Regions from separate parts of the Homo sapiens genome. Here region 2 is linked to region 1. The links are contacts of gene promoters, found by promoter capture Hi-C in human tissues and cell types (Jung and others, 2019). All regions are on one chromosome and are shown on one strand. The core of a region is centred on a gene start or on the middle of the fragment in contact, and the rest is flanking DNA. Distances in the headings are between cores, read along the strand shown. Region 1 holds the start of PPP1R14D (protein phosphatase 1 regulatory inhibitor subunit 14D). Region 2 overlaps RAD51 (RAD51 recombinase).

Region 1 (6,838 bases), core at 3,767-6,266:
CGGCCTCTCGATGTGCTGGGATTACAAGCATGAGCCACCGTGCCTGTCCATGTTTTAGAAAATTTAGAAAAGTTTCTAAATAAACATGTTTTTCTTCTATAATAAAGTTTTTCTTTCTTTTTTTTTTTTTTTGAGAGAGCTTCTTGCTCTGTCCCCCAGGCTAGAGTGCAGTGGCGCAGTCGGCTTACTGCAAGCTCCGCCTCCTGGGTTCATGCCATTCTCCTGCCTCAGCCTCCCGAGTAGCTGGGACTACAGGCGCCTGCCAACACGCCCGGCTAATTTTTTGTATTTTTAGTAGAGATGGGGTTTCACCGTGTTAGCCACGATGGTCTCGATCTCCTGACCTCATGATCTGCCCGCCTTGGCCTCCCAAAGTGCTGGGATTACAGGAGTGAGCCACTGCGCCCGGCTATAATAAAGTTTTTATAAAAGAAAAGACATTTAAAAAGAGCAGCCTGGTTCTGCTGGAGTCTGCCTGCTGCCCATTTCATCTCAGCACTGGACCTGGCCCAAGCCAGGAGAGCAGGCAGGCACCTTTCTCCCTGCCCAGGCCCCCACCCTCTTTTTCTGCCCTGATGTGGCTGTGTGCTCCTGGTGGCTTTTATCTCTTATCTCATCTTGGATCTTGAGCTCCCTTATCTTTGGGCAAACTTACTGATGAATGGTGGTACCAATAGGCCAGGGAGGAGATGTGGGTCAGTGCTAAGTTGGAAGGATATAATAAGGAGCCTCTTGCTATAAATAATGGACATCACTCATTAGTGTGCCATCAAGCTTCATGGTATCCATGCTGTGTGCTCATATAGAATCTTATCAACCCCCAGTTTACGAATGAAACATGTTTTTTTTTTGTTTGCTTTGTTTTTCGTTTTTTGGTGGTTTTTTTTTTTTTGAGATGGAGTTTTGCTCTTGTTGCCCAAGCTGGAGTGCAATGGCGCGATCTCGGCTCACCGCAACCTCCGCCTCCCAGGTTCAAGCGATTCTCCTGCCTCAGCCTCCCTAGTAGCTGGGATTACAGGCATGTGCCACCACGCCCGGCTAATTTTGTATTTTTAGTAGAGACGGGGTTTCTCCATGTTGGTGAGGCTGGTCTCGAACTCCTGACTTCAGGTGATCCGCCCGACTCAGCCTCCCAAAGTGCAGGGATTACAGGCATGAGCCACCGCGCCCGGCCTGAAACATGTTCACAGAGGCTGCATGTATGCATCTGTCTGTCCCTGTGTAGGCTTTCATAAAGTTTGCATGTTTGTGTGTCCCCAGCCCATTACCAGTCAATATCTGTTAAACGTTACCTCCTAAATAGCTGTCCAATTTGCCTGCTTCTTGCCATTGACAGCACTACCTCCCCTACTAGCTTTACTGCAATGGCCTTCCAACTGGCCTCCACCAGCCCTTCTGTGCCCTCTGATTGTCTTTCTGTGCAACAGCCACGGTGATTGTTTGGAAGTTTAAATCTGAACATGTCAACTTGCCCAAGCACCATTGCTTAAGACTCTTCAGTGCCTGCCCAATGCCCTTAAGATGGAGACAAAATTCCTCAACGTGGCTTACAGGGCCCTGCCTGGGTACCTCAACCCTTTCTCCTGCCTCACTTTTCCCTCTCTCCTCCCTCTGTTCCAGCCCCATTGACCCTCTTAGTCCCTTGTACTCACCATCTCCCTTCTGCCACAGGGCCTTTGCATGTCCTCTGCATTCTGCCAGGCCCATCCCTGCTGGCTCCTAGGCCAGTTTAACTTCTACTCATCTGTCAGAACTCAGTCCAGATGTTATCACTTTCCAGGTTACACCTCCATTAGACATTCATATAGCACCTCCTACTTTTCTTCAAATCACTAAATGAAATTGCAATTTTACATTTATTTGATGAGTTGATTATTGTTTGTTTATTTTCACACTAGACTATAAGTTCCTTCCATGAAGGCAGGGACTGTGTCTCTTTTGTTCTTCTTTGTTTGTTTTTTGTTTTGTTTGTTTTTTGTTGTTATTGTTGTTGTTGTTATTTTTTGGGGTTTTTTTGAGACAGAGTTTCGCTCTTGTTGCCCAGGCTGGAGTGCAATGGCACGATCTCAGCTCACTGCAACCTCCGTCTCCTGGGTTCAAGCAATTCTCTTGCCTCAGCCTCCCAAGTAGCTGGGATTACAGGCACCCACCACCACGCCTGGCTAACTTTTTGTATTTTTAGCAGAGATGAGGTTTCACCATGTTGACCAGGCTGGTCTGAAACTCCTGACCTCAGGTGATCCACCCACCTCAGCCTCCCAAACTGTTGGGATTACAGGTGTGAGCCACCGTGCCTGCCCTTTGTTTAGTTTTTACAGAGACAAGGTCTCACTATGTTGATCAGGCTGGTCTTGAACTCCTGACTTCAAGCAATCTTCTCGCCTCAGCCTCCCAAAGTGCTGGGATCACAGGTGTGACCCACCGTGCCCATCCTGTGGCTCTTGAATAACCACTGAGCATAATGTTTGGCCTACCAGGGGAGCTCATAAAATCTTTGTTAAATGAGTGAGTAAATAAATGAACAAAACACAGTGACTCTTCTCATCTAGTTTCTTTTCCCGAAAGGGCTCTCAAACCCTTCAGAAGATAGGAAACAGAAGAGGCAGGGAACTACCATAATAATGCCTCCTGGCCACAGACTGTTAAAGTGACAGCTGAGTCAACAAGATGCATCCTAGAGGCCCCCCTCCTCCTGCTCAGGAAGAGAGCCACACTGATGAAAGCCCAGGCATTGACCACCAGAGCCTCGCCAGGAGGGCAGGGAGAGTGGGGAGGTAAATAAAGGACAGGAATGAATGTCTACTGACAGGGACTCTGTTTCAGATGCCATGCTAAATGTTTACATGCATCATCTCATTTTATCTTCCCAACAAGCCCAATCTGCAGATGTGAAAACAGGCTATGAAACTTGGCCAAGGATTATAAAACCAATGCAGGGCAAAGCTGAGTTGAACTCAGATTGTCAGCCTTCCTCCAAAGCCTGGGCTTTTCCTGGCTGCCATCTTAGTTTCCAGCCACTCAAACACCTCCCTTATCTTCTTAAGTGAGGGCCTAAAATTTCATCATTAAACTGTCATCCATTCGCCTTTTTCCTTTTTTGAGACAGGGTCTTGCTCTGTCACCCATGCTTAAGTGCAGTGTTGCCATTGTAGCTCACTGTAGCCTTGAACTCCTGGGCTGAAGTGATTTTCCCACCTTCCAAGCAGCTAGGATGACAGGTGTGCACCACCATATCTGAGTAATCTTGCTTTTCATTTTTTACTTTTTTTTTTTTTTTTTTTTTGAGACGGGGTCTTGCTCTGTCACCCAGGCTGGAGTGCAGTGGCATGATCTCGGCTCACTGCAACCTCCGCCTCCTGGGCCCAGGCGATTCTCCTCCCTCAGCCTCCTGAATAGTTGGGGCTACAGACGTGTGCCACCACGCCCGGCTAATTTTTGTATTTTTAGTAGAGACAGGGTTTTGCCATGTTGGCCAGGCTGATCTCAAACTCCTGACCTCAAGTCATCTGTCCACCTCAGCCTCCCAAAGTGCTGGGATTACAGGCATGAGCCACCGTGCCTGGCCCATTGTTTACATTTTTTAATGGAGACAAGATCTCACTGTGTTGCCCGGACTGGTCTTGAACTACTGGCCTCAAGCAATCTTCCCGCCTGGGTCTCCCAAAGCAGCTAATTTTTTGTATTATTATTATTTTTTTTTTTGGTAGAGAGAGAATTTCACCATTTTGCCCAGGCTGGTCTTGAACTCCTGAGCTCAAGCAATCCACGCGCCTCGGCCTCCCAGAGTGCTGGGATTACAGGCGTGAGCCACCATGCCTGGCCCCATTTTAAAAAAATTACAGGCTGGGCACGGTGGCTCACTCCAGTAATCCCACCACTTTGGGAGGCCGAGGCGGGTGGATCATGAGGTCAGGCATTTGAGACCAGCCTGGGCAACATAGTGAAACCTCGTCTCTACTAAAAATACAAAAAATTATCCGGGCATGGTGGTGGGCGCCTGTAATCCCAGCTTCTTGGGAGGCTGAGGCAGGAGAATTGCTTGAACTTGGGAGGCGGATGTTGCAGTGAGCCAAGATCGCAGCATTGCCCCCCAGCCTGGGTGACAGTGCGAGACTCCATCTCAAAAAAAAAAAAAAAAAAATTACAGTGTTCTTCTGTCACTTTTTTTTTTTAAAGTTTAGAAATTTTCATTATAAAAGACTAAACAAAAATACCCTGCCTTAGAATGCAAGTATGTATGCCTGGAAGTATTAGTCCCTGACACCTGTGTATAAGTTAGGTTTGCAGGTTTCCTCTGTGTCAGCAAATACATGAATCGGGGGAGGGTCACGTGGTAATAAACATGGCTTCCTAAGCAGTTGCCTCAGGGGAGCGGGCATAGTAGACAAGTCTTGATAAATTTGCCTTTACAAGCAGGTAAACTGCCTTTATAGGCCAGGCTGATAGCAGTTTACATTCGGACACACCCAGACACTGGGGGCACTGGTCCTACGGGAGCCATCAATAACTGACCTCCAACTCTATCTACCAGCTGGGGCTCTGCCCCCAGTAGTGCTACGCTCTGAGTAAGAATCCCTGCCAGCCAGGGACCCTGCTTCTGCGGAATCTGACCACAGCTTCTCAGAGCCCAGAGTGGATCCAGCCCCAGGAAGGTGGGATACAGAGGGATCTCAGGTGAGAACGACTCAGGTCCCATTCCAGAGCTGGCCATAGAGCAGCGATTGGAGCCCTGTACCCTTCAGGACCCCAGGGCCCCTTCCTCCTCCCTGGGCATGGCAGCCTCTTGACCTTTGCTCATCTGCAGTTTATGCCACTTTGGGCCCTAGAAGCTGCAGAAAGGGAGGCTGGGGCATGGCTCTGGAGTGCCACTCACTGGCTGGCAGTGAGGAGCCAGGAGACTGGCATTCCCAGCACCAAAGTCCTATTGATCTTTGCCCTTGCCCCTCCCTGGGAGCCTTGGCCCTCCTCCTGCCTTCATTTCTTCTCTGCTGGCCTCTCCTGTTCTCTGTCTCCTCACTTCCCTCTGTGGCTCTGCTCAGAACTGGCGGTTTTTCCCAGCTCCTTGCCCAGACCAATACTTCCATGCTGTCTTCAAGCCCTGCTTCCTGCACATCTCCCAGCCCAGATGGGGAGAACCCATGTAAGAAGGTCCACTGGGCTTCTGGGAGGAGAAGGACATCATCCACAGACTCAGAGTCCAAGTCCCACCCGGACTCCTCCAAGATACCCAGGTCCCGGAGACCCAGCCGCCTGACAGTGAAGTATGACCGGGGCCAGCTCCAGCGCTGGCTGGAGATGGAGCAATGGGTGGATGCTCAAGTTCAGGAGCTCTTCCAGGTAGGTAGCACAGCGGATAGTGGGAGGAGATGGGGGCCTGGGGTCCACCCAGGGCACTGAGACCTTCACAGGAGCTGGAGGGCTGATGTGAGGTGCTTCCGTGAAGAGAAAGCTTTTGTAACTGATGAAAGAAAGAAGCATCGGTTTGAAGTCCAGAAGTCTGCCTCCCTCTAGGCTTGTCTGTGCCTCTAATGCTCTTTGTGATCTGGGGAAGGTCTTTTAACATCCCTAATCTATAATAGGGCTGTTAGTGCCTGTCATATCTCCTTTATAGGACTTTCTGAGGCTCAAATGAGACAATAGAAGGGAAAATGCTTGGTCACACTATGTTTCAAAATTTTATATCTTTATTTACTCCCATGTTCAATGCACATACATGTCCGGAGCTACATTTTCGTTTCTTTTCTTTTTCTTTGTTTCTTTCTTTCTTTCTTTCTTTTGTTTTTTGTTTGTTTGTTTGTTTTTGAGACAAAGTCTTGCCCTGTTGCACAGGCTGGAATGCAGTAGTGCAATCTCAGCTCACTGCTCTGCCTGCTGGGTTCAAGCCATCCTCCCACTTCAGCCTCCTGAGTAGCTGGGACTACAGGTGCGCACCACCACGCCTGGCAAATTTTTTTGTATTTTTTTTTGTAGAGACGGCTTTTCACCATGTTGCCCAGGCTGGTCTTGAACTCCTTGGCTCAAACAGTCTGCCTGCCTCGGCCTCTCAAAGTGCTGGGATTACAGGTGTGCACCACCATGCCCAGCCTAGAGCTACATTTTCCAATTCTGTAGCCATCAGCCATGTGTAGCTGTTTGACTTTAAATGAGTTATAATTAAATAAAATTATTCAGTTCCCCAGTCACATGGGCCACATTTCTTTTTTCTTTTGCCTTTTTTTGAGACAGTCTTACTCTGTAAACCAGCCTGGAGTGCAATGCCGTGATTTTGGCTCACTGCAACCTCCGCCTCCCAAGTTCAAGCGATTCTCCTGCCTCAGCCTCCCGAGTAGCTGGGATTACAGGCATGCGCCACTGTGCCCGACTAATTTTGTATTTTTAGTAGAGACGGGGTTTCTCCATGTTGGTCAGGCTGGTCTCGAACTCTCGACCTCAGGTGATCTGCCCACCTCAGCCTCCCAAAGTGCTGGGATTACAGGCGTGAGCCACCGCACCCAGCCAACATGGGCCACATCTCAAGTGTTAAATAGCCCCATGTGGCTAGTGACTACTATGTTGTCAGCACAAATATAGAATATTTTCGTTATTTCAGAATGGACAGTGCGGGACTAGAATGTTAAGAGTAACCAAAGTTGAGTGCCAATACCAGGACCTAAGCAATCTTTGACCCTGGCTCTGACTAACACTCTTCAACCCCACTCTGGGAAAAGGACAGGTCTTGGTCCCTGGTTACTGGAAACGGCACTTTCTTACTTATATACCTTTAAACCTGGATTCTAGAGAGGTAAGAACTGCTGTTCCAGCAATAAGAATAACATTCTGAACACAACTACGTGCTAGG
Region 2 (6,507 bases), core at 3,158-5,657, 120 kb after region 1:
GGCGCAATCTCGGCTCACTGCAAGCTGTGCCTCCCGGGTTCACGCCATTCTCCTGCCTCAGCCTCCCAAGTAGCTGGGACTACAGGCACCCGCCACCACGCCCAACTAATTTTTTGTATTTTTAGTAGAGATGGGGTTTCACTGTGTTAGCCAGGATGGTCTCAATCTCCTGACCTTGTGATCCGCCCACCTCGGCCTCCCAAAGTGCTGGGATTACAGGCGTGAGTCACCGCGCCCAGCCAAACTCTTGATCTCAAGTGATCCACCCGCCTCGGCCTCCCAAAGTACTGGGATTACAGGCGTGAGCCACCGTGCCTGGCCTGTCATCTTGAATTTAAAGTGAAGTCAGTCAGCTGTATGATACGATTTTTCTCCAGTATAATCAGCTATTTGGGTACAGACACTGAGAAGATAGATGAGTTTCATCTAAGGTTGGCATCTCTTCAAGTGGGTATGTAAACTGAGGCTATCTGCAAGAGAATTACTTTAATGATGAATCATAAAATCTAGACTAATGAAGAAGATGGAGGGCTGGGCGCAGTGGCTTACGCCTATAATTCCAGCACTTGGGAGGCCAAGGTGGGTGGATCACTTGAGATCAGGAGTTCAAGAGGAGCCTGGCCAACATGGTGAAACCCCCTCTCTACTAAAAACACAAAAATTAGCCGGGCATGCTGGTGGGCGCCTGTAATCCCAGGTACTCGGGAGGTTGATGAAGGAGAATCACTTGAACCAGAGAGGAGGTTGCAGTGAGCTGAGATCACACCACTGTACTTCAGCCTGGGCGACACAGCGAGATTCTGCCTCAAAAAAAAAAAAAAAAAAAAAAAGTAGCAAGTAAAGCCAGGAAAAGGCCTGGTAGCAAAAGTATTTGAAATTAACGTATCTGATAGGAGATCAATGATTTGGAAGTTTCTATGACATGGAAGGATTTTGAAGTAGGAGTCTATCTTCTAACTATTAACAGCTATAAGATTCTTGAGGACAGAGAAAGTACCTTTTATGGCCATCCTAACAGATGCTTGCAAATAGCAGGAATGAAGTAATGCTTGCTTATTTGATTAGCTATAGCCCCAACAGCTCACCTGGCAGGTGACAGCTAGCGTATGACAGATCTGGGTCTTCCCAGTTCGGAATTCTCCAAACATTTCTGTGATAGATCCAGTCTCAATTCCACCTAAAAAAGCGATAAGAAATAACTCTTAGCATAATACAAACATGTAGAAACTGTAGTCATAGAAATGTTCTTGGAGCTCATCAGAAAGATGTTTATGTAAGTTAAAAATTCAATTTCCAACAAGCGATAATTTTTCACAAATGTATTTTGAGGCTAGCCGTGGTGGCTCATGCCTGTAATCCCAGCACTTTAGGAAGCTTAGGTGGGTGGATTGCTTGAGTTCAGGAGTTCGAGACCAGCCTGGGCAACATGGTGAAGCCCTGTCTCTACAAAAATTAGCCGGGCATGGTGGCGGATGCCTGTAGTACCAGCTACTCAGGAGCTAAGGTGAGAGGATCACTTGAGCCTGGGAGGCAGAAGTTGCAGTGAGCCAAAATCGTGCCAGTGCACTCTAGCCTGGGTGACACAGTGAGACCCTGTTTCAAAACAAACAAACAAACAAACAAATAAACCAAAAGTATTTTGAAATAATTAGATTTATAGATAGCTGCAAATAAGGCCAGGTGCGGTGGCTCACACCTGTAATCCCAGCACTTTAGGGGGCCGAGGCGGGCTGATCACCTGAGGTCAGGAGCTCGAGACCAGCCTGGCCAACATGGTGAAACCTCATGTCTACTAAAAATACAAAACTTAGCTGGAACTGGTGATGGGCACCTGTAATCCCAGCTACTAGCAGGCTGAAGCAGGAGAATCACTTGAACCTGGGAGGCGGAGGCTGCAGCAAGCCGAGATCACGCCACTGCACTCCAGCCTGGGTGACAAAGTGAGACTCCTCAAAAAAAAAAAAAAAAAAGCTGGGCACAATATGGTGAAACCCTGTCTCTACTAAAAATACAAAAATTAGCTGGGCATGGTGGTGCATGCCTGTAGTCCCAGCTACTCGGGAGGCGGAGGCAGAAGAATAGCTTGAACCTGGGGGCGGAAGTGGCAGTGAGCCAAGATCATGCCACTGCACTCCAGCCGGGGTGACATAGCAAGACCCCATCTCAAAAAAAAAAAAAAAAAAAAAAGCTGGGCACAGTGGCTCATGCCTGTAATCCCAGCACTTTGGGAGGCCGAGGTGGATGGATCAGGAGGTCAGGACTTTGAGACCAGCCTGGCCAAGACGGTGAAATCCCGTCTCTACTAAAAATACAAAAATTAGCCAGGCACGGTGGCGGGTGCCTGTCATTGCAGCTACTCAGGAGACTGAGGCAGGAGAACTGCTCAAACCTGGGAGTCAGTGGTTGCAATGAGCCGAGATTGTGCCACTGCATTCTAGCCTGGGCAACAGAGCAAGACTCTGTCTTTAAAAAACAAACAAACAAACCAACAACAACAAAAAAAAACATACGAAATTTCTATGCACCTAGCCTTCTGCAGTGTTAACCTCTTGCATAATGATAGTATAGCACTGATATTAGAAAACTGACATTGGGGGCCAGGCATGATGGCTCACGCCTGTAAGCCCAGCACTTTGGGAGGCTGAGGCGGGTAGATCATCTGAGGTCAGGAGTTCGAGACCAACCTAGCCAACGTGGTGAAACCTCATCTCTACTAAAAATACAAAAATTAGCTGGGCATGGTGGCACTTGCCTGTAGTCCCAGCTACTTGGGAGGCTGAGGCAGGAGAATCACTTGAACCCAGGAGGCGGAGGTTGCAGTGAGCTGAGATTATGCCACTGCACTCCAGCCTGGGTAACAGAGTGAGACTCTGTCTCAAAAAAAAGGGAAAGAAAACTGACATTGGGCCAGGCAAGGTGGCTCAAGCCTATAATCCCAGCACTTTGGGAGGCTGAGGCAGGAGGATGGCTTGAGCTCAGGATTTTGAGACCAGCCTGGGCAACATAATGAGTGATGCCCCGACTCAAAAAAAAAAAAAAAAAAAAAAAAAATTAGCCAGGTGGTAAATGATCATAGTCCTAGCTTGGGGAGACTGAGGCTAGAAGATCACTTGAGCCCAGGAAGCAGAGGTTGCAGTGAGCTGAGACCATGCCACTGCACTCCAGCCTGGGTGACAGAGTGAGACCCTGTCTCGAAAAATAAATAATAAGGTCAAAAGCTTTATAGTTTTCCCTGAAGTCCTGAAGATTAGTGTGTACACAATGAGTAGTATTCAAACATGGAATGTTTTAACCAGTCATCAGGTTTTCAACCCTGTGGTAGAGTAGGTTATAATTACAGTTACCTCCTTAAGCAAAAGGAGCTTACTCTCTTAACACAATATTAAATGGAGACTAAATTATTTAATTTGCAGATAAGTTTAGTATTTTATAAATAAGGTCCTACCTTGCAGCAGTCTTACCTCTTCAATGTGGATACTTCCTTTATCTCTCTTTGTTTTTGAGACAGAGTTTTGCTCGTCACCCAGGCTGGAGTGCAGTGGCACAATCTTGGCTCACAGCAACCTCCGTCTTCCGGGTTCAAGTGATTCTCCTGCCTCTGCCTCCCGAGTAGGCATGTGCACCTACAGGGATTACAGGCATGTGCCACCATGCCCAACTAATTTTGTATTTTTAATAGGTTTCTCCATGTTGGCTGGGCTGGTCTCGAACTCCCAGCCTCAGGTGATCTGCCCACCTCAGCCTCCCAAAGTGCTGAGATTACAGGCATAAGCCACTGCACCTGGCCTTCCTCTATCTCTTTATCATTATCTAACAAGGAAATGCTACACAAATATTTCAGTTTTGTTTTATAACCTGGAAGCTTTCCTAACTAGAGTTCACAACACAGGATAAAGGATTACTACACCTTGAAGTAGTTTGTCAAGCTCTTTGGAGCCAGTAGTAATCTGTATGATCTCTGACCGCCTTTGGTGGAATTCAGTTGCAGTGGTGAAACCCATTGGAACTAATTTAGCTGCCTCAGCCTGGGAAAAATAAGAAATATTAAATCAACAAAATAATATTCCTTACCACAGTGATCTTGATGGCAAAAAAATATATATAAAGAAAAAAGAAATATTAGTAAAACAAGGTGTGCAATGGGAAGAGAAAATATCAAATAAAATTACCAGGATGATTTCTCTTTAGAAAGTCATAAAAAAGGATAATCTAATTCAGAGATTCCATGAAGATCAATTTTTAAATTGCCAATTCAAGTTAATATATTAATATAGTTTTAAAAACTATTATAGATCCGGCCGGGTGCGATGGCTCACGCCTGTAATCCCAGCACTTTGGAAGGCCAAGGCAGGCGGATCACAACGTCAGGAGATCGAGACCATCCTGGCTAACATGGTGAAACCCCATCTCTACTAAAAAAATACAAAAAATTAGTCGGGCGTGGTGGCGGGTGCCTGAAGTCCCAGCTACTTGGTAGGCTGAGGCAGGAGAAAGGCGTGAACCCGGGAGGCGGAGCTTGCAGTGAGCCGAGATCGCGCCACTGTACTCCAGCCTGGGGGACAGAGCGAGACTCTGTCTCAAAAAACAAAACAAAACAAAACAAAAAACTATTAGAGATCCGTACATATGTGTTTTGCCCAATTTATGACAAAAATGACAATACAGTACACCTTCATTTCCTGCTCCATCAACCGCAGACTGTATCCCTTAACTTCCTACTTTGTAAAAATGAGGACATTTGCCCTTCAATCTTTTCTCTCTCCATGGCTACTTCCCCACCTCTATCAGCTGTACCTTTTCTTTCATATTGTCTGGCTGAGAACATTCACATTCTATTTTGTAATTACAGATAAGTGTTCTGTAATAGCACTATGGGTTGATTCTAAAATTGAAAAGTAAGTGCATTCACAAATATGCAAAAATAAAGCAACACACTCCTAAATAAGCAACAAGTCAAAGAAGAAATGACAAGGGAAATCAGAAAATGTTTTTGCAATGAATGAAAACGAAGATATACCAAAACGTATGGGCTCCAAGAAAAGCAGTGCTTAGAGAGAAATTCATAGCTATAAACAGCTATATTAGAAAAGAAGGCTGGGTGTGGTGAATCACACCTGTAATCCCAGCACTTTGGGAGGCTGAGGTGGGAGGACTGCTGGAAGCCAGGAGTTTGAGACCAGCCTGAGTAACAAAGCAGCACCCTGGCTCTAAAAATGTTTTAAAATTAGCAGGGTGGCTGGGTGTGGTGGCTCACCTCTGTAATCTCAGAACTTTGGGAGGCTGAGGTGGGCAGATCACAAGGTCAGGAGTTCAAGACCAGCCTGACCAACATGGTGAAACTTCCTCTCTACTAAAAATACAAAAATTAGCCGGGCGTGGTGGCACGCGCCTGTAGTCCCAGCTACTCGGGAGGCTGAGGTGGAAGAATCACTTGAATCTGGGAGGCGGAGGTTGCAGTGAGCTGAATTTGCACCACTGCACTCCAGCCTGAGAGACACAGCGAGATTCCATCTCAAAAAAAAAAAAAAAAATTAGTAGGGCATGGCTGGGCATGGTGGCTCATGCCTGAATCCCAGCACTTTGGTAGGGTGAGGTGGGCAGATCACGAAGTCAGGAGTTCAAGACCAGCCTGCCCAATATGGTGAAACCCCATTTCTACTAAAAATACAAAAAATAGCTGGGCGTGGTGGCGTGCGCCTGTAGTCCCAACTACTCAGGAGGCTGAAACAGGAGAACTGCTTGAACCCGGGCGGCGGAGGTTGCAGTGAGCCGAGATCACACCACCGCACTCCAGCCTGGGCAAGAGAGTGAGACTGCATCAGAAAAAAAAAAAAAAAAGGCCTGGCGCGGTGGCTCACGACTGTAATCCCAGCACTTTGGGAGGCTGAGGCAGGCAGATCATGAGGTCAGGAGATCAAGACCATCCTGGCTAACACGGTGAAACCCTGTCTCTACTAAAAATTAGCTGGGCATGGCGGCACGTGCCTGTAATCCCAGCCACTCAGGAGGCTGAGGCAGGAGAATCGCTTGAACCCAAGAGGCAGAGGTTGCAGTGAGCAGAGATCACGCCACTGCACTCCAGCCTGGGCACAGAGGGAGACTCCGTCTCAAAAATAAAATAAAATAAAATAAATAGCAGGGCATGGTGGGGCGTGCCTGTGGTCCTAGTTACCTGGGAGGCTGAGGCAGAAGGTTTGTTTGAGCCAGGAGTTGGAGGCTGCAGTGAGCTATGATCACACCACTGCACTCCAACGTAAGTGACAGAACAAGACTCTGCCTCTAAAAATAAAAAAGATAAATCATAACCTAACCTTCCAAAGAAAAGCAAACAAAACAAAGCAAGCAGAAAGATGGAAATAATACAGGTTAGGGTAGAAACTATTAAGTAGAGGGCAGAATAATAGAGAAAAATCAATGAAACCAAAAGCTGGTTCTTTGAAAATATCAACAAAATTGACAAACTTTTAGCTGCATTGCCCGAGAAAAAAAGAGAAAAGACTCAAATTA

Evidence for each region. The method cuts DNA at HindIII sites, captures the fragments that hold promoters and counts their contacts. A contact is called where the count stands out against the background at its distance.
Region 2: a fragment that was not itself captured here is called in contact with the fragment with the promoter of PPP1R14D in region 1 in 3 of the 25 tissues and cell types used here (aorta, heart left ventricle and lymphoblastoid cells).

Annotation. Positions count from the first base shown.
Region 1 is chr15:40,826,886-40,833,723 of GRCh38, reverse strand. PPP1R14D (protein phosphatase 1 regulatory inhibitor subunit 14D) reads left to right here and starts at 5,016. Exons shown (of 4, transcript NM_017726.8): 1 at 5,016-5,337. The coding sequence starts at 5,083. The HindIII fragment of the contact is 14,686 bases long and covers 1-6,838 here.
Region 2 is chr15:40,703,695-40,710,201 of GRCh38, reverse strand. It overlaps RAD51 (RAD51 recombinase), which reads right to left. Exons shown (of 10, transcript NM_002875.5): 4 at 3,908-4,025; 5 at 1,086-1,177. Among named protein-coding and RNA genes, the nearest start is that of RAD51, 12 kb to the right of the region's middle. The HindIII fragment of the contact is 4,221 bases long and covers 2,297-6,507 here.